Regions from separate parts of the Homo sapiens genome. Here all the other regions are linked to region 3. Evidence: promoter capture Hi-C in 16 types of primary human blood cells and fetal thymus (Javierre and others, 2016). All regions are on one chromosome and are shown on one strand. The core of a region is centred on a gene start or on the middle of the fragment in contact, and the rest is flanking DNA. Distances in the headings are between cores, read along the strand shown. Region 1 overlaps ANO4 (anoctamin 4). Region 2 overlaps GNPTAB (N-acetylglucosamine-1-phosphate transferase subunits alpha and beta). Region 3 holds the start of UTP20 (UTP20 small subunit processome component).

Region 1 (3,168 bases), core at 143-2,642, 450 kb before region 3:
TAATACCATTTTGATAAATGATTAAAAATATTCCTGCATATATCTTCAGCTTTTACAAAGGGAATTATGTGATTTTGGGTTTTCAATTATGTGCAACCTATTGACTGGACATTTTCTGATGTTTCCATGGAGGATTTAAGTGTTATTATGTATAATATGTTAGCTATTAATTTTTAAATAACAAGTTTAAATTGCACAAAATTACTTTATTATAGAAGCTGTTGCCAAAATCAACTGGCTTGGGAATGCACATCACTGAGGAATTTGAACCAATCAAATCATTAGCCAGAGAAATGTAATTATTTATAACTCAGCCAAGCTCTTATTATGGGCAAGTTAGTTGCACTTTTCTCCGCTCTTTTGTGGTTGATGTGGTATTTTATAATGAACGTAGATTAGTGGGAAAGGAGCAATATTTATAAGCAAAAGACAGTGTAACAGAGTGAAAAATTGAAATATGAAAAATTATGAAAGACGGAAACATTCAGAAAGCAGATTTTCTGAAATTGTGTTTAAAGACAGATAAATAAATATGTTTGAAGATGGAATTGAGAAAAAAAGATGGAAAATGGTCATTGCTCACAGAAAAAGATTCACTAAGCTTATTCTTTTGATGTGATATAATAGTGATTTGATGGATGCAGCTAACAAAATGTCTACAAAAAGCCCAGTGGTATCCATTAATATTGATGCATTGAGTTTCACTAACCGTATTCATGGATGTATTATTTCTAGCACCTTCTGTGTTTTTCTTTTTGTATTTGGTCCATACCAGCGTGTTGGGTGCTGTCCATGGTACTGGACCAGCGTTGCTTGCTAGGGCCTGCTGTTTGGGAGATTCTAGGGATGGTTTCCTCCTCCCAACCGCAATGGCCCTGTTCCTTTATCTTACACTGTGCTTGAATTGTAAATACAACTTGTGAATTTATTAGTAACATTTCTAGTTATTGTAGTTTCTAAGTATGAGATCTCAGTGGAGATCTCCAAACTTAACCTGGCTAAAACTGAGCTTTTATTTTTCTCCAAACCAGTTCCTCCTGCAGTCTCTTCCATCTCCGTCAATGGCAACTACATCCTTTGTTACTGAGGCTGAAATCTTCTTATAATCCTTGACTCCACTCTTTTTTTCACATCCCACATCTGTCAGGTCTGCCTTTAAAATATATTCAGAATCCGACCAGTTTTCACCACCTCACTGTGGCCATCCTTGTGTGAGCCCCCATCATCTCTCCCTGTAATGGACTTCTAACTGGCCGTCCTACTTATGTCCTTCTACTTCCCCAGGCCAACTTTTAAAGCCTGTTCTCTATATAGTAACCAGAGTAGTCTTGTAAAACATGTCAGGTCCTATTACTCCCTTGCTGAAAATCCTCTGATGGCTTTCTGCTTTAGTCAGATAGTAAAAGACAAAGTCCTTATAATGGCTCTTACATCATCTGGCCTTCTTGACTCTTCCTCATGTACCCTATTTCAGCCACACAGGCCCTTTTGATGATCCTTGAACACACCCAATTATGTTTTTGCTTTAAGACCTTTGTACTCGCGATTCCCTGTGCCAATACAGATCTTCCATCATTATATGCATAGCTAATGTCCTTACTTTCTTCAGGTTTTTATTTAAAAATATCTTTTTCATTGATATTTTTCCTGGTCTTTCTATTTAAACTTGTTAAAAAGAAAGAAATACCCCCCCATAACAGCTTATATTTTAAATTAAATGTATCTTTGTTGTTTTTTTATCCCTCTAAGATGTTGGCTCAATGAAAGTAGGAATTTTTTCTGTTTTGTCTACTGCTATGCCTAGAATAATGCCTGCATAGTAGGAGCTCAATAAATATCTGTCAGCTGACTAAATGAATGGAATTATGTTAACAGATGAATGATTTTAGCGGAAATAAATGTCAATATTTGATGATATAAATATATATATTAGATTATAATCATTTATCAGATTATTATTTTAGATAATAAAAGCATTTTTAGCATTGCTTGATTTATGGTTAGGATTCTGTATTTGGAGGTGCTAAAATGGGTAAGAAGTCCAGCCATTGCAGATGCAGAGGCCTTTAGCTGAAGCTCTAGAGCTGTTGGGGTCCCCAGGAAAAAGCTCACATGAGATCTCCTGATGCTACGCTTCTGGCCTTCATTATTCACCCCCATTTCTAACATATATATGTTGGGGGGAAGCTTAAGGTTTTCAGTGGTGTGGGGCTACGACGGGTGTCCCTTCACACCATTTCAAATGGATAGGGGTAAGTTATATCTAGAGTCTTAGTTCCAGAAACAAGGTTGTGATACATACTCCTGTTAAAAAATTTTTTTTTGATTAATGTGCACCAGCCACTAGGGGATGCTAGACACTCATATTCAGAGTAGGGTCCACTGTCTCATTGGGCTTGGCAAGAAGTCTGGTCTACCTACCTTCAGACCATTTCATTATTTGTATTCTTTTTAGCCTTTTGTGTAAAACTAACATTTATTTAATATTTCCTCCATTCCTCCTTTTTTCAGCACATTCCCCAATTGGAGAGGGGTATTTTGGATGCATCTGGGTTCTTGCTTTTAGGAACTGTGTTTAATCATGGAAACCTCATTCCTATTTTCCAAGTGGCAGTGACTCATGCGGGGAGAGTCAAGGCCCTGGGTCTCTGCTAGTGCTTTCCCCATCCTTTAGCATTTCTTCACTTTGCTAAAAAGCGTAAAAGTCTTTTCAGTGATTCTGTCTGTGGGTGTTGGAAAAAGATTTTAAGAAAAATGATTTTCAAAATGACTAGTATTTACACGTATGAGTCCCTATCTTTTCAAGTTTTTAGTTTCATGCCACTTTAGGAAAATAATAGCCCATGCGGTGCCACCTTATTCTTTATATCTTTTACACGTGATTGATTGTAAAGGCGATGAGGATACCAGTATCCATTGCCAGGAGGTAAGCAGGAATCAGATAAAAGCAAAGGGTGGAAGGTGGAGATAGAAATACATATATGAATAACATTCTTCTTCTCTCCAACTTCATATAGCTTATCAAATCCTTAATTTAGCTTTGGGAGGCTGGTGGATCACTTGAGGTCAGGAGTTTGAGACCAGCCTGGCCAACATGGTAAAACCCCATCTCTACTAAAAATACAAAAAATTTAGCTGGGCATGGTGGCATGTGCCTGTAATTCCAGC
Region 2 (3,438 bases), core at 1-2,500, 490 kb after region 3:
AAGGAAGGGAAGGCAATGAAGAGCTAGAGAAAGGAAGAAATGGAGGTAGAAGGGTAAAGGGAATGAAATTATGGAAATCCCTGTACCACACTAAAAGAGCAGAATTAGAAATCACAGTCTTGTAATTTTTAGAAAGTCCTGTACCTGGTGTGTTACTATTGTCACTCGAGGATTGTCAAGGTTCAGCCAGGATGGAATCTGCCCGTTGGTGACAATGAAAATATTCCGAACCCATGGTGCATGCCTCTCGATAGATCGCAATGAGTACCTCAGTTCTTCGTTATCTTCAAAACGACTGGCAGAGATGTCTTCATCCTGCTTAGACTGAGAAAAACACTTGGCATATGAAGATGTGAAATACCCCTTAAGTCATACCTCCTCCTCTTTGTCCTTTCCTTCTGCCCGTCTGCTCTCAAGGTGCTCTGGCAGACTTTTAAAGATGGAGTCCTAATTTTAAACATTACAAAAAATGCAAAAGATTCAGTATATATATTTTTAAACCCAAAATTCAAAGAGACAGCATTTCTATAACACACTTTATGAAGAAGGTTCTTGGATCTGATTCTAGGTGACTTCAGTTAATACCAAACCAATGGCAGTGACTGAAAAATTAGAAAAATTCCAATCAACTCACCTCTCTGTAAGTCCCCTTCCCTCTTCTAATATAGTAACTTACACATTTTTAACATCTTAACCTTTGATTTGGGCTGTAAAAGCTTCTGTGCATCCCTTACCTGGCTGATGGCGCTCAGATCCCATAATAAATATGCAGGACTTATGGTCAGTTCTTTTCCATCAATGGTCATGTTCTTCTTAGTTTGCTTATTCAATTCTTGAAAATCCTTGGGGTTATTCAGTTTTAGAAGCGCTACACTGGCCTCTGAATACAACTGCAACTATCAAATAACAAGAGGATTACACATGAAAAGACTGAATCTCAAGGATGAAGCACCTTTAAATTCCCACTCTGCTCTTTAATCTTTCCTTTTTTTTTTTTTTTTGAGACACAGTCTCGCTCTGTCGCCAGGCTGGAGCGCAGTGGCACGATCTCTGCTCACCTCAACCTCCGCCTCCCGGGTTCAAGCGATTCTCCTGCCTCAGCCTCCTGAGTAGCTGGGACTACAGGACTGCATCATCACGCCCGGCAAACTTTTGTACTTTTAGTAGAGACAGGGTTTCACCATGTTGGCCACGCTGGTCTCCAACTCCTGACCTCAGGTGATCCACCTGCCTTGGCCTCCCAAAGTGCTGGGATTACAGGCGTGAGCCACTGCAACTGGCCTGATCTTTAATCTTGAAATGGTAAGACAATATCAAAACACAACAAAAAGACCTACACAGACCAGATGCATTTCCCAAATGAATGTTAAAAAAATAGGCGTCTAAAAACAAGAAGGAATGGTAAAGGCAGTGGCAAACTGGACACCTCAGAGCCATCTGAGAGCTGCAACCACTCAATGGCACCAAGTGCTGCCAGATCTCCTGAGAGGCAAGAATCCCCAACTGTTGTATGAAATCTCCCCAATTTTTCAATGTTGGCTCAAATGATTTTTGACTTCTTTGCAAGTACACCTGCTGGCCAACAGTTCTGTGACTTTTCTTCTAGAATATTACCAATCTGCTTATATTGGGCAAAAAATCTGCAATGTAATTAACCTTGCTGGAATTGGTGACAAGTACATCTGCTAGTGGGGTGTCTGAACAGCTTTTGTGCCACGTGCCTGGGAGGAGCACCTTCGGCAGGACTGCCTGAAGTGCTTCCATGGGAAAACTACCTTTTGGGGCAAAGCTTTTGGGGCAATCATAAATCTAAGCGTGAACATCACAAACATCAAGTTCCACAAACAGGCTTTGCCACCCCTACGAAAGTCCACACCACTCTTTATCTGTTTTCTGTTCTGACTCTGTATCACACAACTTCCTATGAAGAGGCTTTCATCACTCAGGAAAAGGGGAGAGGCCTGAAAACCACAAATGTAGGACAGTAAAATCCTTCTGCTGAACTAGTGCTTCTAAAAGAGCTTACGGTCTTCTTTCTCAATCTATAAAACAAAGCAAACACAAATTTTATTATGAGCTTATTCTGAGCTCTTCTATTTGCTGCATGACTATTCTTAGCTCATTTTCTAAGCAGTTTCCTGAGCGTATGTAGTCCAGAACACCAGAGGTGAGAGTTAGAAATTTCATTTATATCTTTTCCCCTTATGATGTAGGCCATTAACTCTTCTCACAGATTAGGTGCAGGTGCATGTGTGAGCACCTGCAGATGCATGTAACTGTCTTCCTGACTCACCACTTTCACCTCTTTTACTTAGTGAGTGCCTGGCACATATTTAGTACTCACTAAGTTGGTTCTCACTGAGTCACCAACTTGCCTCAGCATATGTGCCGGGTGCTGGGAGGCAGGCCACACAGGGGGATTAGTAGTCTGCCTGGGTCCCTGTCTACCCTCTGGCCTTTCCTGTCCCTTTCCTCCCTCTCACAGCACCCCCAAAGCATTTCTGAGGGCTCCCTGGAGAGAAAAAGTCACTATTCTAGAACAATTTATTTACTTATTTTTATTTCTATTTTTTGAGACGGAGTCTGACTCTGTCGTGCAGGCTGGAGTGCAGTGATGTGATCTCGGCTCACTGCAACCTCCATCTCCCGGGTTCAAGTGATTCTCCTGCCTCAGACTCCCGAGTAGCTGGGATTACAGGCAAGCACCACCATGCCCAGCTAATATTTTTTGTATTTTTAGTAGAGGCAGGATTTCATCACATTGGCCAGGCTGGTCTCCTGACATACAATCTGCCCGCCTCGGCCTCCCAAAGTGCTGGGATTACAGGCGTAAGCCACCAGGCCTGACCTCCATCTCCCATTTCTTGAGGGGAATCAGTGTCTGGTTCAATCACAGCTTCGTTATCAATTTCTAGATCACTTTCCTCACTTGATAGTTCGTCTGTGCTTATGTTTTCCTCCACCTTCTTACTACCTGTTTTTAATTCCTTGATATTTTCTTCTGATTTATAATAGCTTTCTGAGTAGCACATGGTACTTCACCCCCCATGCTCTCCACCTGCTCCCTCAGAAAGCACATTTCCTTGGTATGCAGAATGCTCGGATCCTGCTTATACATTTTCACGAAGTCCCGAAGCTCGTTCACTTTGCGAAGGTCCAGGGTCGGAAGGCAGTGGGCGAAGCTGAGGGGCTGCAGGCCAGTTTCAGGCCCAGGCACTGGCTTGGCGTAACCTCGAAGAAGGGGTGTGTCTAGTTTAATTTCATAACTTGTGTTGGCTCTTTGTTTGATAAGAAGGTATATCACTAAAACTATTCTTTTTAGTGCCTAGGGTTGGTTTCTAATTATATATGCATAAAAGAGCAAGAAGAGGTTTGTCTATAGTAACTATACAATAATTCGGAAAGAGATGAAGATTAATGAGGTTAAGGTAATATTTA
Region 3 (3,415 bases), core at 634-3,133:
CAGCTTTCTTAGATTTCCCTGTGACCCATAAAAGGCTTTTAAAAAAAAAAGACCAATTATTAGCCTACTGAAAGCCAATGGAACATTAGGCACGTCAATATTTTATTATAAAAAAATCTATAAATGCTATGGAGGCATTAAAATATTTAGAACAACCCTGTGGTGACACAGAAAATGTTGATGTGATAATGCCAATAACAATTTGAAAGTGTTATGTTCACTTTCTCAACTCTGATTACCTCCTCAATCCATGCATATTTCACTTCCTTTCTTCCAACTAGACTGTACTTAGCAAGGTCACCAGTGACCTTCACCTTGTCAGATCCAGCAACCACTTCTCTATCCTCGAATTTGCAGTATAGTTGGCCACCAGCTCTGCTTCCATGCCATAACTAGTCTGTTTCTACCTTACTGGCTCTCTTTCCCAGTCGCAAATGCCTCACACTTGAGGTATTTAGGTGTATTTAAGTCACGTCTGCAGCCCAGACTGCTACAGTGAGCTCTGTACAACAATATATCCAATTGTCTACTTAACATCACTCCTTGACTAAAATGTAAGCATCTCAGACCAAGTATTTCCAGTCTGGGCATGGTGGCTCACCCCTGTAATCCCAGCACTTTGGGAGGCCAAGCCAAGAGGACTGCTTGAGTCCAGAAGTTTGATACCAGCCTGGGCAATATAGCAAGATCCCATCTCTACAAATAATAATAATAATAATAATAATAATAATAATAATAATAAAAGAGCTGGGTGTGGTGGTGCATGCCTGTAGCCCTAGCTACTTGGGAGGCTGAGGTGGGAGGCTCACTTTAGCCCAGGAATTGAAGGCTGTGAATATTTTCAAATAATTAATTAATACTATTATTGCCTTTCTCGTTTGGCTCCCAGAACAGTACCTGGTCCACAGAGGACTCTCAAGAAATAGTTGCTGAATGAATGAATGAATGTAAAATGGGGTAAATAATTATATTTTTAAATTATTTTTTAAAATTGTACATATATGTATATATAACTGTACAATTTAACAACATGCTATGTGTAGACATTAAAGTGATGGGAAAAACACCAAACATTAACAGCGGTTGTGCATGAAATTAAAAGATTTTTCTTAAAACTCCTTCTCTATTTTTCAATTTTATTTACAGCGTAGTGGTTAAGAATACCAAAATTTAGAGTCTGAGTGAAGACTGCCAGTTACCAGCTGCACAACCTTGGTTTCCTCTTGTGTCAAATTGGCTTAAAAATATACACAGTACCGGCCAGGCGCGGTGGCTCACACCTGTAATCCCAGCACTTTGGAAAACCGAGGCGGGCGGATTGCCTGAGCTCAGGAGTTCGCGACCAGCCTGGGCAACAAGGTGAAACCCCGTCTCTACTAAAATACAAAAGAATTAGCCGGGCGTGGCGGCGGGTGCCTGTAGTCCCAGCTACTTTGGACGCTGAGGCAGGAGAACTGCTTGAACCCGGGAGGCGGAGATTGTAGTGAGCCGAGATCGCGCCACTGCCCTCCAGCCTGGGAGACAGAGTGAGACTCCGTCTCAAAAAAAAAAAAAAAAAAGTATATATCTATATATAGATATATAGATAGACGCAGTACCTCCTTTGTATTAACATCCCTAATAAGCTTTACTGTGAAATTATGGATGAAAGGATCTTTGCACGATGCAGGTACGTAGTGAGGGACAGTAATGTTAGTTGATAACGATTACAGGTATGTTTTATTTTATAATGAAAATACATTTGTCTTCTAAACCTTTACCGAAGGGAGTGAAAAGAACACCTCACCCAAACGCCCGCCCTTATGTGCGCAGCCCCGCCTCCTGTAGGCCCCACCCCACCAAAGGGTGCGCCTGCGCCGTTCTTTTTTCCGTCCACGTGACCCACTCAGGCTCCTCCTTGTCTCCAACATGGCGGCGCCCAGGGGCTCAAGCCGCACGTGAGAAAGTCTGGGCATCTGGGAATCGGAGAGTATAGCCTGTGAGCCGCTTTCCCCTCCTTACTGTCGGTTGCATCCCTTCGACACTCCCGAGGCCGTCGCGGGCCACTGGCCCTCTGCAGCCATGAAGACAAAGCCCGTTTCCCACAAGACCGAGAACACCTACCGGGTGAGCGCGGGAGCTTAGGCAGGGAGCCGCGGGTCTCCGCTGCCTCAGTCGTGAGACAGGCTCTGAGCGAGACTCCAGGGGCCTCAGACTTCTGGGCCGAGTGTGTCACTTTCCTGGAGGCTCCGGCGAAAGAGGGAGACACTGGATGTAGTAAACATGGGTTGGAGGAGGAAAGAAGTGTGGACAGCAAGTTTCACCCATGTTTTATGGGGTCTGGCCAGTCCTGGGAATTTCCTGTAGTCCAGAATTAAATTCACTATTCCAGGAGATTGCTTAGGACCAATTCTCCCCTGCTCTTTTATCTTTAAAGACCGAATTGGGCGAGTCGGCTGGCGGTGAGTGATTCCCAGCTAAGGGCAAATATACAGCGCTTTCTCTGTTTGCCCCTTGATAGATTGTTTCCAGGTCTTCCTTAGGATACAATCATAGGTCTGTATATGTTTAAAAACACTTTTATTGCAGCGACTTTGCTAGGTCCCCATGCTTATGGGAGGGTATGAAACCTAATAGATCTAGCGAGACTAATTGCCAGCATCCACCTAGGCTCACCAGTCTGGCAATGGAAATTTTATTTGAAATGACATAGCTGAGAGAAATTATGCAAACATAGAAGTATTCATTATCTTTGAACAGTGATGCAGTAAATTTGTTTACGGCCGTATGTTTTTCAGTTTATTTTTCCACTTATCCTTTGTGATTAGAGATGCCTACATGCAGCATTCAAATAGATATTAAAGATCTGATAAATTTTAATTAATTATGTATCTTAAATATACTTTCCCTTCCAGTTTCTTACATTTGCTGAACGACTGGGGAATGTTAATATTGATATTATTCACCGGATTGATAGAACTGCAAGCTATGAGGAGGTAAGAGAATGTGATACTAGTCAATCTTCAAGTGTTCATGGTGTTTTAGTTTCTTCTGTTAGTAGAAGTGAATTGTTTTTCAAGGTATTCCTTTTTGGACATGAAATGCTTTAGACCTGTGCTGTTTCATACAGTAGCCACATATGACAAATTGGATTTAAAGTAAATTAAAAATTTGGGTGCCCAAATGTGGCTAGTTGCTAACATATTGAATAAATATAGAATTGGAACATTTTCATCTTTGCAGAAAGTTCTGTTGGGTGAAGCTCTATTAGACAATTGACTTGACTTTCAGCTGTCTTTGTGATTCTAGCCTCTCCCTTTCCCTTATGCATTCCAAGCACTGCTGCAGATCCATATTCCTGAAGCTATAACTTTAAAGTGATTTTGAGGAAGCCCTTTTCCCGGGGCTTAATTTTCTCCTTTATAAAAATAAAGGG

Evidence for each region. The method cuts DNA at HindIII sites, captures the fragments that hold promoters and counts their contacts. A CHiCAGO score of 5 or more calls a contact.
Region 1: a fragment that was not itself captured here is called in contact with the fragment with the promoter of UTP20 in region 3 in 3 of 17 cell types (endothelial precursors, M1 macrophages and M2 macrophages); the score reaches 7.9 in endothelial precursors.
Region 2: a fragment that was not itself captured here is called in contact with the fragment with the promoter of UTP20 in region 3 in 3 of 17 cell types (fetal thymus, naive CD4 T cells and total CD8 T cells); the score reaches 7.4 in fetal thymus.

The regions. Positions count from the first base shown.
Region 1 is chr12:100,825,740-100,828,907 of GRCh38, forward strand. All of the region lies in intron 1 of ANO4 (anoctamin 4), which reads left to right. Among named protein-coding and RNA genes, the nearest start is that of ANO4, 33 kb to the left of the region's middle. The HindIII fragment of the contact is 1,586 bases long and covers 600-2,185 here.
Region 2 is chr12:101,770,262-101,773,699 of GRCh38, forward strand. It overlaps GNPTAB (N-acetylglucosamine-1-phosphate transferase subunits alpha and beta), which reads right to left. Exons shown (of 21, transcript NM_024312.5): 8 at 735-896; 9 at 145-324. It also overlaps the pseudogene ST13P22. Among named protein-coding and RNA genes, the nearest start is that of SYCP3, 33 kb to the left of the region's middle. The HindIII fragment of the contact is 1,073 bases long and covers 715-1,787 here.
Region 3 is chr12:101,278,222-101,281,636 of GRCh38, forward strand. UTP20 (UTP20 small subunit processome component) reads left to right here and starts at 1,884. Exons shown (of 62, transcript NM_014503.3): 1 at 1,884-2,106; 2 at 2,895-2,975. The coding sequence starts at 2,062. RefSeq lists enhancers at 1,583-2,174, 1,908-1,957. The HindIII fragment of the contact is 7,469 bases long and covers 1,624-3,415 here.